Regions from separate parts of the Homo sapiens genome. Here all the other regions are linked to region 5. Evidence: promoter capture Hi-C in human tissues and cell types (Jung and others, 2019). All regions are on one chromosome and are shown on one strand. Each heading gives the region's core, a stretch centred on a gene start or on the middle of the fragment in contact. The rest is flanking DNA. Distances are from core to core; before and after follow the strand shown.

Region 1 (2,700 bases), core at 14-2,513, 830 kb after region 5:
CTTGATGTGATTCTATTTGTCCATTTTTACTTTGATTGCCTGTGTTTGTGGCTTTTTTTTTTTTGTCAGAGTCTCCCTCTGTCGCCCAGGCTGGAGTGCAGTGGCACGATCTTTGGCTTACTGCAAGCTCCGCCTCCCAGTTCACGCCATTCTCCTGCTTCAGCCAACCAAGTAGCTGGGACTATAGGCACCCACCACCACGCCCGACTAATTCTTTGTGTTTTTTAGTAGAGACGGGGTTTCACCATGTTAGCCAGGATGGTCTCGATCTCCTGACCTCATGATCCACCCGCCTCGGCCTCCCAAAGTGCTGGGATTACAGGCGTAAGCCACTGCCCCCAGCCACTTGTAGCATATTATTAAAGAAATCTTTGCCCAGATCAATGTCCTGGAAAGTTTTCCCAGCCCTTTCTTTTACTAGTTTTATAGTTTGAGGGCTAAGATTTAAGTCTTTAAGTCCATTTTAATTGATTTTTGTATACGCTGCAGATGGGGGTCTAGTGTCATTCTTCTGCACATGGATATCCAGTTTACCCAGTACCATTTATTGAAGAGACTGTCCTTTCCCCAGTGTATGTTCTTGGTACCTTGTCAAACATGAGTTCACTTGCAGATGTATAGATTTACTTCTGGGTTCTCCACTGTGTTGAGAATAGAGAATATTAATCTCTATTGGTCAGTGTGTCTCTTTGTATGCCAGTACCATACTATTTGGGGGACTGTAGCTCTGTAGTATAATCTGAAGTCAGGAAACGTGATTCCTCCAGTTTTTTTCCTTTTGCTTATGATGGCTTTGGCTATTCTGGGTGTTTTGTTGTTCCACACAAATTTTAGAATTGGATTTTCTATTTCTATGAAGAATATCATTGGTATTTTGATAGGGATTGCATTGAAACTGTGGGTAGTATGAACATTTTAACAATATTGATTCTTCTATTCCAGAATCATGGCATATATTTCCATATTTTTGATCCTCTTCAATTTTTTGCATCAGTATTTTATAGTTTTCAATGTAGAGATCTTCTCTCCTTTGGTTAACTCCTAGCTATTGCATTTTATGTGTAGCTATTGACAGTGGGGTTACTTTCTTGATTTCTTTCTCAGATTGTTTCTTGCTGGCATACAGAAATGCTACTGATTTTTTGTATGTTCATTTTGCATCCTGCAACTTTACTGAATTTATCAGTTCTGATAGGTTTTTTGCAGTGTCTTGGGGTTTTTTCAAATATAATATCATGTAATCTGCAAACAAGAATAATTTCACTTCTTCCTTTTCAATTTGAATGCCCTTTATTTCTTTCTCTTGTCTAATTGCTCTAGGTAGGACATCTGGTACTATTTTGAATAACAGTGGTGAATGTGAGCATCTTTGTCTTGTTCCAGATCTTAGAGAAAAGGCTTTCAGGTTTTCACATCCAGTATGATATAGCTGTGGGTCTATTGTTTACAGCTTTTTATTGTGTTGTGGTATGTTCCAGTTTTTGAGGGTTTTTATCATGAAGGGATGTTGAATTTTATCAAATGATTTTCAGCATCAATTGAAATGATTATACAGTTTTTGTTCTTCTTTCTGTTGATATGATGTATAACATTGATTGATTTGCATATGTTGAACCATCCTTGCATCCCTGGGATAAACATAATTTGATCATCATAAATGACCTTTGGAATGTTGTGTTGAAGTTAGTTGGCTAGTATTTTCTTTAGGATTTTTGCATCAGTATTCATCAGAGATATTGGCCTTAGTTTTCTTGTTTTCTGTGTCCTTGTTTGGTTTTGTTATCAGGGTAATACTGGCCTTGTAGAATGTGTTTCAAAGTATCTCCTCCTCCTCTATTTTTTGAAATAGTTTGAGTAGGATTTGCTATTTGTTATTTAAATGTTTGGTAGAATTCATCAGTGAAGCTATTGGGTCCTGGGCTTTTCTTTACTAGGAGAATTTTTGTTATGGTTTTGGTCTCATTACTTGTTATTGATCTGTTCAGGTTTCAGATTTCTTTATGGTTCAATCTTGGTAGGTTGTATGTTCTAGGAATTTATCCATTTCTTCTAGATTTTTCCAATTTATTGGCATATAGCTGCTCATAGTAGCCACTAATGATCCTTTGAATTTCTGCAGTATCAATTGTAATGTCTCCTTTTTCGCCTCTGATTTTATTTATTTGGGTCTTCTCTCTTTTTTTTTTCTTAACCTAACTAAAGGTTAGGCAATGTTTTTAACTTTTTTAAAAAAACCACTTTTTTTCATTCATCTTTTGTATTGTTTTCTTCCTTTCAATTTCACTTATTTCTATTCACTATCATTTCTTTCTTCTGCTAATTTTGGTTTTGGTTTCCTAGTTACTTGAGATGCATTGTTAGGTTGTTTATTTGAAGTTTTTCTTCTTTTTGATGTAGGTGCTTATAGTTATAAAATTCCCTCTTAGTACTGCTTTTGCTGTATCCTATAGGTTTTGGTCTTGTGTTTTCACTACCATTTGTTTCAAGAAAATTGTAAAATTTTTCCTCAGTTTTTTGTTTGGCTCACAGTTCATTCAGAAGCACATTGTTTAATTTGCACATCTGTACAGTTTCAAAAATTGTTATTATTATTGATCTGTAGTTTATTCCATTGTGGTTAACATAGGTGCTTTATATTATTTCAATTTTTAAAATGTTTTAAGACTCATTTTGTGATCTAACGTAAGTTCTATCCTTGAG
Region 2 (2,700 bases), core at 41-2,540, 860 kb after region 5:
TAATTATGTAAGGTAATGGAAATGTTGTTTGCTTGATTTAGATGTCATTTCACTATGTATATGAATATCAAAACATCAAGTAGTACACTTTAAATATATATAATTTATTTATCAATTAGGTCTCAATACAGCTGGGAAAAAAGAATTTACATACTAATTAGGAGAAAGCAAAAAGTTTCTGAGAAATCAATTAAGAACTTGGAATTAACCATGGATGGCAATAACAAATGTGGTTAGAGTGATGAAGACACAAGTCTAAGTGGAATATGATAAAGAGAGACAAGAAAATAAGGGGGTCAAGGTGATAGGTTTACGTAGCTCCTTCAGGGAACTTTTCCACAAAGAACAGAGAAATTAATCAGTAGCTGAAGAGGAAGAACAGGAAGAACTTTCTTCAAAGATAGGAAATACGCCATTTTTAAGCTAATAGAAATGTTCATTAGAGAGGAAGAAGTTGATGATGCAAGACAGAGAAATTAAAATTATAGGAGTCAAGTCAGCAAACAGGGAATAAAATTCGGAGCACGGGAGGGTCATTTGGCTTTACATAGGAGTGGAATAGTTCTTCTGTTGTGGCGTATATGCTTTCGATTGATATTCCAACTTTGTATAAAGTTATTTTACTTTTGAGTGATTTTTAAGATAAGATGCCTAGTTGAATCTTATGTGTATCTACATAAGGTGCCCACATATTTGGAAATTACACAAACACACACACACACACACACACACACACACCAGAAGTCAGTGTCTGGCTCATATTTCTCAATTAAATCAGGTGATCGATCCTTGGGGAATCACTCAACTTTCAGAAAAAACGTCCTTCAAATTGGTTGTTTCTGTGCCTATAAAAAAAATACTCACGTGGAACTCATAGTTTTCTATGCACTGTTATCTGAGCTGAATTAAAATTCGATGCAGTGTTTGGAAGCTTAAGATTTCCCATTTTAAAAAATGGAGGGAAATGTCTTCGAGCATATGAAACTGAGTTTGGGGATCAATATTGACTTGAGAAATGTTTTAGTTTTTTTCTTGAAAATCTTGAATTTTTCAATTATGAATGCAATGTAAAGCTCCTAAAGAAAGTTGATTTAAAGGATATTTCTCAGTTTCCGATTCCATACATCTTTCCATCCATTCTTTATACATATGTAAAATACATTGCTATCATTTTATGTAAATACAACATTTCTAGAATGGCATTCTCCCCTTTCACTTTCAGTTGAAATAACATAAGAGTTTTTTAACAGTCTTAAGTAATTGGAAGTTATCTAATGCCATAAAAAATCTTATACAAAACTCTGAAGAAAAAAATTAAATTTGAAAATTAATTTATGCTACATTGCTTTGAGGTTTTAGACCCACCTCTGATATAGTATATGAAAGTTAAAAGCTTAACAGTTGTCCCCAATCATGTACAATTCAACATCTATCAATTATTTTTCTCTGAATTTTTAAGATTTCATTCAAGCAGCTTTAAAAGCTTACCATTTTCTTTCTTTATATATAACACTCCAATCAAGCCAGAAACTAACAAAGGTGTGGTGATTTTAAACATTTTTATTATATTTTCACTTTGTACTCACTGCAGTAGTCAGACCAGGTTGCCATAATAAATACCATAGACTGAGTGGCTTCAGCAACAGGAATTTGTATCTCACAGTTCTAGAGGTTAGGAAATTCAAGATCAAGGTGCAAGCAGATTCCATTCCTGGTAAGGGTTCTCTTCGTGGCTTGCAGATGGTCACTTTCTAGCTGCATCCTCACATGGCAGGAAGAGAGAAAGCTCTGATCTCTCAGTGTCTTATAAGGGCACTAATCCTATAATGGGGCCCCCACCCTTATGATCTCATCTGTCCCCAGTTACCTCCCAAAGGCCTCACCTCCAAATACCATCACACTGAGGTGCAGGGCTTCAACATATGAACTTGGGTGAAACAAAACATCCAACACTTGACACTCACTTTCTCATGCAATTAAGCAGAAATGAACATTGTATCATTTCTAAGAGATGTGGACTACTAGATACTACCTTGTCAGGAGCTTTCACATTATGTACATTTCTCCACTCTTCCATGGAAGTGCCAAACCAAGCATCTACACATTCCTAAGGAATCTACACATTCCTAAGGAACTACTCGTTCCTAAGCAAGGTATGAGGCTTGCTCATAAAAACCATAGTAATCACTGTGTCTGTAACTAGATTACTTAACCTGAGGCAACATACTTCAGGACACATTTGAGGAATATTTTTGGCCTGAGTGCTATAATTATACAGTGTTTCAAAAAGTCTGCTACCTAGCAATGAGCTATAATGGTTTTCTCTTCGACCCCCAATTTAGCTTTCAGATTGGTAAATGAACCAAGTGACTAAATATTACTTAGCAGTTCAAGTAGCTTCCCTTCCCCACCACTTTTCTCACTGTGCAGAAAGGAGAAGGCTTTTTCAAATGCAAATATGAAATTTGGCTTAAGATCTTAAGAAATAAATTTTCACCCATCAATGGCTGACTTTTCTGGCCACCCTTTAAAAAAGAAATGCTTCCTTATCCTTAGAGATCTAAAACAAAATTTTGTTTTAACCTCATTTTTCCATAGGTCCACTCTCTTCAGATTAAACTGAAGTGAGCAAGAGTAGGTTTTAAATATTAATCACTCCATGCAATGTCCAAGCAGAACAAATAACTTGACAGGCAATTT
Region 3 (2,700 bases), core at 154-2,653, 880 kb after region 5:
GTCTCAACATTCTTTTTTTCTGTATTTACTGAATTATTTATTTATACAACCCTGGTTGAATTTTAAAACTTTTTCTACTTCTCCCTAAGAACATTTCTATTCACTCATAGTTCAATTTGAGATTCGTTTTCTATTCATAATCAAAGCTACAGTGACTAAAGATACAAAAGGAGTAAGGTAATGATAGATAATTTTGTTGCTTAAGAAAAATGTCTTAGTGCTAATAAATTCCCTCCTTTTTAATCATAAGCTTTACTTTTGCAGAAAGTTTTTCTAACCAGATATTTCTTTGGCTTTTTATTTTACAAATAGTTATTGCATAACTATTGTATGCCAGGCACTGGATCAAGGAATACAAAGTGTATAAAGATATAAAGATGAATAAAATTTAGTTCATGCCCTCAGAGACTAATTCTTGTACACAATTACTTTAAGAATATACAAGATGTTCAGAAAATCACAATAGAGGAGAAAACAAATTCTGTCCTTTGTTAGATGCCTATCAATACATTATTGAAGCATATTTTTAAATATCAAATCAGAAGTATTATTTTTCATATAGCATTATTACAGAAAATCAGAGTCAAAATAATTATTCCCATTAAAATACTTTTCTAGGAATGTAATTTGCCATGACTAAAAGGTCTTTGTTGTTACCAATGAATAGGAAGTGTTCCTGTTCTGCACTACTAGCCTATGTCTTATAAAAGTAAAATAAAATAAACATTCAGCTTTCTTCTACTTTTAGAAGCTTCACTAACCTCAATGCCTTGATCGACGTTCCTCTGGTAATCACATATTTTCTGCTACCATTACCCAAAAAAATCAATGTGCATGAAGTGGGAAATAAGTAAAATATTTTGAGTTATTGCAGCCAGGAAAAATATCCTTAATAGTATCACAAATGAAATGTAATCATTGCTTTGTGTCTGCATGATCCAAGGCCTGATTGTGATACAGCGTGATGTCCATCGAGATACTAAAGGGCCCCTCCCACTGCACAATAATCATAGCTTTCACTAGGAATAACCCCACCACCACCACCAAAATAAAATAAAATAAAATAAAGTGAGCAAGGGTCTGAACTAAGGCAAAGTGGTGACCCTGTTGGAATTCAGAATCTTGGACAAGCAGAGAGATGAGGAACACAGCCTGGTTCTCACCTACTGAGAAAAAAATCCTCAAAGCAGACAAATGCAGTTACAAGTTGGTAGCCATCTGTAACAGCAGAAGCATATACAATTTAAACCAAAGCTAGCTTGAGTTAGAGCCCCAGAACCAATATGTTCACCAATAAATCTAAGGTCACAGTGCAAGCCACTACAAGTAACAGTTGGTAGGAACAATAGATTTGTAGAAGGGCCGTGTATGAAATATAAATAAATAAAGGTGTTTCCTTTGTTATCACAAAGATGAGCATACAAAAAGAGGCTATGTGAAGTAAGAAGCAGACTGAGAATGAAAAGAAGGACTTCTAGAAATAAGTAAAACAATATATTTTTGTCGAAATCATTTTTCTATTCCTTGTCTCAATTGTCAAGTTCATTTCACTTTACAGAGTGTGTTTGCAGGTATAGCCAATGTTCCTTAGTTTAAAAGCAAAAACCATCACCATTGAGTTATAGAGTGCAACAAAGAAGGAAAATGGTCTTTAGACATAAAGTGGAAGCCATGACTTTGCAAAGCACTCTGGATGTAGCAAAGGAACCCATTAGACTTGATGATTAAAGATGGTGTTTTGAGCAAATGCAGAAGTAAAGGCCATAACTGGGGAATGAAGACCAGGAACCAAGAATCTGACTTTCCAGCACTAACAGCTGAAAGGAAGAGCAGGGCAGGGCGGGGTAGCGGGGGAACTCAATTTAGGAAGTCAAAGACTGCTTCTCAGCTACCAAGATTACAGGTAAACACCAACTACTTAGTGATACAGAATTAGAACTAATACAGATATATACTGCATACCACTTGTAGAAAGTTGTGTGTGATTGCTTATTATGGATCCTGAGCTCAGTCGTATACAACAATGTTTTTATTGTCTTCTTAAAATCCCCTTCAGATATCAGGATATGCTAATACATGAACTTCAAAGGCCATGTAGTAACCAGTCTGTTACTTAAGGCTCCAATGGGTAGAATGAGGACCCTATACAAACTTCTGATCTATAGAACTGTGAGCTATTAAATATGCATTGTTTTACACTGCCAATTACACAGTAACTTACTGCATAGCACTAAAAACCCAATACACTTTCTTTCCAAATATTTCCAAAATTCAGATTTTATTGTTTCCTTGCATTAAGAGTTCACAGGCTCCCCTTACTCCTTACTGCGATACACCAGACACTTTATTAATAATTGGGCTTCTACCTACCTCTCCAGCTTTATCCATAGTGAAACATCCCTAGAGGGCATAGGCTCCAGCCACACTGGATCACTAGCCTGTCCTGAAACATAAGGGTGGAGGCACAACAGATAGGCTCTCTTAACAATTCTTCCAATTTGTGTATCGCAGAGCCTAAGCAACCAAAAACTGCATTTCCCACTGGGGTGAACACACCCCAGTGAGCCATGCCCTTGTATAATCTCCTCTCCTTGTGTTCAGGCAGAGCCTAAGACTTGCATCTAACCAACCCAATCTGTCAAAGGTGACAGGATGTCACTCTCATAATTATGTTATTTTTCTATAAGGCTGTCTTAGCAA
Region 4 (2,700 bases), core at 72-2,571, 670 kb after region 5:
AAGGAGAGCTTTGGGGGAAGGATTCAGGAATGTGGCCCACTTCTAAGGCATACCATTATAAAGACTTGAGGTCAAGGTGGAGATAAACCTTGCATGTAGGGGCAGAGTTGGGGGGAAGGATAAGTGGGGGAACATTAGTTCTAAAATCAGAGATGAGACCAAAATAAAATCTATTTCAAATCACCCTAGGAAATCCCTTAAATCACCCATAATATACAGTGATTCTCATACTCTATAAATCTGAGACTCACTAAGCTAGATTAAAAGATGTGAACAAAACATTCATCAATTTGGCCCAGACAAAAGTATTCTTGCTTGCTTTAGGATTTACTCAACTTGTTCTAATTTTAACCTTCTGTTGCTTTAAAATATGGTAATGGATTTGTTGGTTGTTGAAGGAATTGAATGTGATTGTGGTGTTACATCTTTTCTTATATTAAAATCTTTAATTCTAAAATCAGTATGTCACATACATTACCACATTAACACATCAAGACTGGAAACTGATGATTGGAACAGAGACAAATGTGTTGGTGAGTTGTGGGGAGCTGTCAGGGGACTTATGGACTATAGCTGTCCTATAGTCTATAACGAGCCAGCTGAAGATGGACAGAACAGGAACAATGAGAAGGTACATAGAAGATGCAGATGCTGGGTCAAATTGGTGGTGATAAAATCTGGTCATTATCTCTTTGTAGCAAGTAGGGGATCTTTCATGGTTTGGGCAAAAATTTTCTGAATCACAAAGAAGTCCCATGTAACAATCGTGAGATGTATCATTCTACATATATTCATTCTCTGATAATTATGTCATGTCTATCAATTTCTCACCATAGGCATATATAAAAAATAAGATGATAAAGTAATGGCATTAGGTGAGTTAATTAGCATACTAAAATATGCACGGTCCAAACGAACATAATGACTTGAGAGATAATGTACAAGTTGTAAAAAAAAAAAAATGAATAAGAAGATTATATTTTATTAGAGAAACACTTAGTTATTAACCAAAAATATCATAGTGGTTGATATGATCAATATTTGGTTCAGAAGGATTTCAGTTAAGAAAAAAATCAATCTTCTCTCAAAGATTAAAGATATAGCATTAACTAGGATAGTTCATAAATACCTGAAGTCATTTTCAAAAGTGATCATTGGAAACAGTGCTCCAAAAGGGAATAATTTTACAGAACCGGGAAGGAAATCCTACTCCCTTTCTTGAGAAACAAATACTATGATTTTATTGAATACTAGTATAATACCAACTAGCAAACTTTCCAAAAGCTTTCTCAGATTAAACCGTAAGTGAATTACTTTCTCTCCTCCATTCTAGTCCTGCTGCAGGATTTTGAATGCTGAGAACACTAGAGTTCCAACTTCTAGGAGTGGTTTGGTCTCAATGGCTGAGTCAAATCACCACCCCTGTCCAACTACAATGGGCAGACAAGGATGAACATGTTCTTTCCACTCTGTTTTTTGTGGTCTTCTCCATTCTCTTTGCACCATTCTTCATTACGTCCTCTTCTATCTGCCATTGTAAATGAGATTGCTTCCTTTTCTGAATTTCCTCATTGTTTATGCTTTTACCTTATTTTACTTTGCATTGGATGTGAATTTTACTATCTTTTCCTACTTGATCTTCTATCTTTGAGGGCAGGATCCCTGGCTAATAACAATAGCCATCATGTTTTGAGTGGTCACTATGTGCTAGTCATAGTGCAAAGCAAATCACTGGAATTATTTACCTTCATCCTCATAACAAGCCAATGAGATGGGTGTTACTATTATCCCCTTTCACATGGGGAAACTGATGATTGGTTAATGATCTTATCCAAGTCTACACAGCTGGTCACAAAGAATGGGGACTGGAACTCAGGATGTCTGTTTGGAATAAATGCACAAATGACAGAAAATATTCCTCTCTCCTGACCTCGCCTTAGGGGAATATTCTGAATATATTAAATAATAAAATGTGGTTACTGTAGAAATCTACCTATCCCTGCTTTTATGAACAATTTTGGCCAGAAAAAAAACTATGTGATAATAGAACATGTACAGAATTTGAATTTTGTCTGAGGCAAAGAGACACCTTTCATGGTTAAACTGAGCATTTCATAAAAATATTTTGTTTCTGATTTGTAGGTATTTTAAATAAATCTTTTAAAGAATTCAGTCCTTTGCACACAATGCTGCATTCAAATATTCAAATATTTCATTCTTGGTTCATTTCTTCCTTTCCTCTCTGATGATTCTTTGGGGTTTTGGCAATGTTGAAATTCTGGTTTAGCTTTGCTAATGCTCGCCTGGTAATATTTTTCTTTCCAATTTGCAAGCAGCAGCTGTGTGATGGTGTGTGTGCATGCTGACACCCTCCATTCCTACTTTATAGCTCTTGTTAGCAAGCCAAAAGCTATGCATCATTCATGCAGAGTGATCCCATTTCTGTACCCTGCCCCTCTGCACACACTTAAAACTAATTGAGTAAGTTATTTTAAGATAACGGCAATCATGGATTTGATGTTTATCAAATTCTTAAGATAAATCCTTAGAGATCCAAATGACATAATTCTTATTCCTGCTTAGACTTATCAAGGATCAAGTGAAAATACATTAAAATATGCTTTATACACTGCTTAGACCATTAGTACATTTTTCCAATTATATTTTTAAGTATATTAATACATTTAATATATTTATTTT
Region 5 (2,700 bases), core at 201-2,700:
TCTATACTTCAAACTGATGTGATAACTGCGCAGACCCCTGACCCTTTGCTTATTGGGCTACACTGAAAGCGCTTTGGAGATTATTCGCCTTTGCATTCCTCACTCCCTGGTGCCCTGCAAATAATAGCAGGTACACAAGAAACATTCAGTGACCCAATCATTTCTTGACACCCTCCTCTGCACTCTTCTCTTTTTGCAGCATTCAGGAGCTCTTACTTATTTTCATACCCAAATCAGTGATCAGATAATCACTCATAAATATGACATTTCAGAACGTGCTGGGAGCAGCGCAGACAGTGTGTAGGGAGCCATCCAGAGGCCCCACCCACCTGGGAAGCCAGGGAAAGCTTCCAGGGGGAGGGGGCGGTTCTGTGGGCTGCAGTCCGAGGGGGAAAAGCAAACGTGTAGGCAGCAGGAGTTGAGAGATGGGATCCAGACAAGGGCCTTCAGATATATAAATATCCCTTTCTGAGACTGACGGGAACTTGGACAGGGCCGAAGAGTGACCGAGGCATGCGGGAGAGAAGGGGCGCCTGGACTTTTGGAAGGATAAACATGCAGGCGCCAAAGGTGGCTTTAAAAATTACGTTAGATCTGCAACTGTTGTGAGTCTAAGGGCGCGATTCAACGAAGGCTGAATGGGACCCGGAGACCGAACGTTCCGGAGTCTTACCCCTTCACTTCGAAGTGAAGTGCCTCGAAGGCCCTGCGGGAAGAGGGAATTGCAATTAAGAGCAGATTTGAAGCTTCATCTCATTTTGTCTCTGCAGCCAGAAAATAAACTATCGTAAAGCATCCTACTGCGGGACACTGAGGTTTGCTTTTTGTTTCTAGGTTTATTTATTTATTTTCCAGGCTGGCTGCAAGGCAACTTGAACAAAATCTGGCTGCGCTCGGACTGGGGCGGCTCTTTCGTCTCTCCAGGTTTTTCGCGTCTCTCTACTTTCAGTGACACGACAACCAACGATGGCAGGCCGCAGCTGCACTGCTGGAAGCGCCCAGTTCCGCAGGCGGGAGGGCCGGAGGCGGCCACGCATTTCCACTCCCGGGGCGACAGGCTTCCGAAAGTTCACGTCCTCCTTCCAGAGTCCTTGGGTGCGGGCTGGGGCGAGAGGGGAGGGGGCGCGGTGACTGTCCCTCCAAGGAGCTGTCTTCCGAAGCCGCCAAGTCTCGGGCGGGTCCTCTTCGGAAGAGGGAGAAAGTTGGGCGGGACCACGGGGCGGGGCTGGTGGGTGGGGAGCGGGTGGGAGTCCGGGCGCCCCCAGCGCTCGCGAGCCGGGGTGGAGCCAGCAGCCCCGCGTGGCGTCCGCGTTTAAGATGCAAATCGAGTCCCCGCTCCCCACCTCCCCTCGCCCGGTAAGCGAGGCTCCGCCGCCGCCCACGCCTCCTGCGCGCCACGGCACCAGAGCAGGCGGCTCTACTTAAGCAGCGCGCGGGCCGCGACCCGGCACTCGCCTGGAGCGCGCGGGCAAGGCGGGCGGAGCGCACTGGAACTCAAGGGGGCGCACAGCGGCGCGCTCGCACCGCTCGGCTCCGCGCGGCTCTAGGAGGTGGCGGCGGTGGCGGTGGCGGCGGTGGCGGCGGCGGCGGCGGCGGGGCGCAGGGCTGAGCGAGCGTCCGGGTTCCGGGGCTCCGGGGAAGGCGGTTGCAGCTCCTGAGTGCAGCGCGGCTTCCTGCCACTGTCCCGGCCCGGCCACCTCTCTGTCATGGCTCTGGCGGACAGCACACGTGGATTACCCAACGGGGGCGGCGGCGGGGGCGGCAGTGGCTCCTCGTCGTCCTCCGCGGAGCCACCGCTCTTCCCCGACATCGTGGAGCTGAACGTGGGGGGCCAGGTGTACGTGACCCGGCGCTGCACGGTGGTGTCGGTGCCCGACTCGCTGCTCTGGCGCATGTTCACGCAGCAGCAGCCGCAGGAGCTGGCCCGGGACAGCAAAGGCCGCTTCTTTCTGGACCGGGACGGCTTCCTCTTCCGCTACATCCTGGATTACCTGCGGGACTTGCAGCTCGTGCTGCCCGACTACTTCCCCGAGCGCAGCCGGCTGCAGCGCGAGGCCGAGTACTTCGAGCTGCCAGAGCTCGTGCGCCGCCTCGGGGCGCCCCAGCAGCCCGGCCCGGGGCCGCCGCCCTCGCGGCGCGGGGTGCACAAGGAGGGCTCGCTGGGTGACGAGCTGCTGCCGCTTGGCTACTCGGAGCCCGAACAGCAGGAGGGCGCCTCTGCCGGGGCGCCGTCGCCCACGCTGGAGCTGGCTAGCCGCAGTCCGTCCGGGGGCGCGGCGGGCCCGCTGCTCACGCCGTCCCAGTCGCTGGACGGCAGCCGGCGCTCGGGCTACATCACCATCGGCTACCGCGGCTCCTACACCATCGGGCGGGACGCGCAGGCGGACGCCAAGTTCCGGCGAGTGGCGCGCATCACCGTTTGCGGAAAGACGTCGCTGGCCAAGGAGGTGTTTGGGGACACCCTGAACGAAAGCCGGGACCCCGACCGTCCCCCGGAGCGCTACACCTCGCGCTATTACCTCAAGTTCAACTTCCTGGAGCAGGCCTTCGACAAGCTGTCCGAGTCGGGCTTCCACATGGTGGCGTGCAGCTCCACGGGCACCTGCGCCTTTGCCAGCAGCACCGACCAGAGCGAGGACAAGATCTGGACCAGCTACACCGAGTACGTCTTCTGCAGGGAGTGAGCTCCCCAGACCCCCT

Evidence for each region. Contacts are between HindIII fragments. The study calls those that stand out against the background at their distance.
Region 1: a contact is called between a fragment that was not itself captured here and the fragment with the promoter of KCTD12 in region 5, in 4 of the 25 tissues and cell types used here (H1 embryonic stem cells, dorsolateral prefrontal cortex, heart right ventricle and 1 more).
Region 2: a contact is called between a fragment that was not itself captured here and the fragment with the promoter of KCTD12 in region 5, in 2 of the 25 tissues and cell types used here (bladder and stomach).
Region 3: a contact is called between a fragment that was not itself captured here and the fragment with the promoter of KCTD12 in region 5, in 2 of the 25 tissues and cell types used here (H1 embryonic stem cells and dorsolateral prefrontal cortex).
Region 4: a contact is called between a fragment that was not itself captured here and the fragment with the promoter of KCTD12 in region 5, in 3 of the 25 tissues and cell types used here (dorsolateral prefrontal cortex, heart left ventricle and mesenchymal stem cells).

What each region holds. Positions count from the first base shown.
Region 1 is chr13:76,055,468-76,058,167 of GRCh38, reverse strand. No RefSeq gene overlaps it. Among named protein-coding and RNA genes, the nearest start is that of LINC00561, 120 kb to the right of the region's middle. The HindIII fragment of the contact is 9,741 bases long and covers 1-2,700 here.
Region 2 is chr13:76,023,339-76,026,038 of GRCh38, reverse strand. No RefSeq gene overlaps it. Among named protein-coding and RNA genes, the nearest start is that of LINC00561, 90 kb to the right of the region's middle. The HindIII fragment of the contact is 3,338 bases long and covers 1-2,700 here.
Region 3 is chr13:76,006,001-76,008,700 of GRCh38, reverse strand. No RefSeq gene overlaps it. Among named protein-coding and RNA genes, the nearest start is that of LINC00561, 72 kb to the right of the region's middle. The HindIII fragment of the contact is 3,533 bases long and covers 1-2,700 here.
Region 4 is chr13:76,216,600-76,219,299 of GRCh38, reverse strand. No RefSeq gene overlaps it. Among named protein-coding and RNA genes, the nearest start is that of LINC00561, 280 kb to the right of the region's middle. The HindIII fragment of the contact is 6,147 bases long and covers 1-2,700 here.
Region 5 is chr13:76,885,155-76,887,854 of GRCh38, reverse strand. KCTD12 (potassium channel tetramerization domain containing 12) reads left to right here and starts at 1,450. Exons shown (of 1, transcript NM_138444.4): 1 at 1,450-2,700. The coding sequence starts at 1,707. The coding sequence ends at 2,684. RefSeq lists silencers at 1,223-1,652, 2,053-2,322 and an enhancer at 1,936-2,435. The HindIII fragment of the contact is 7,826 bases long and covers 548-2,700 here.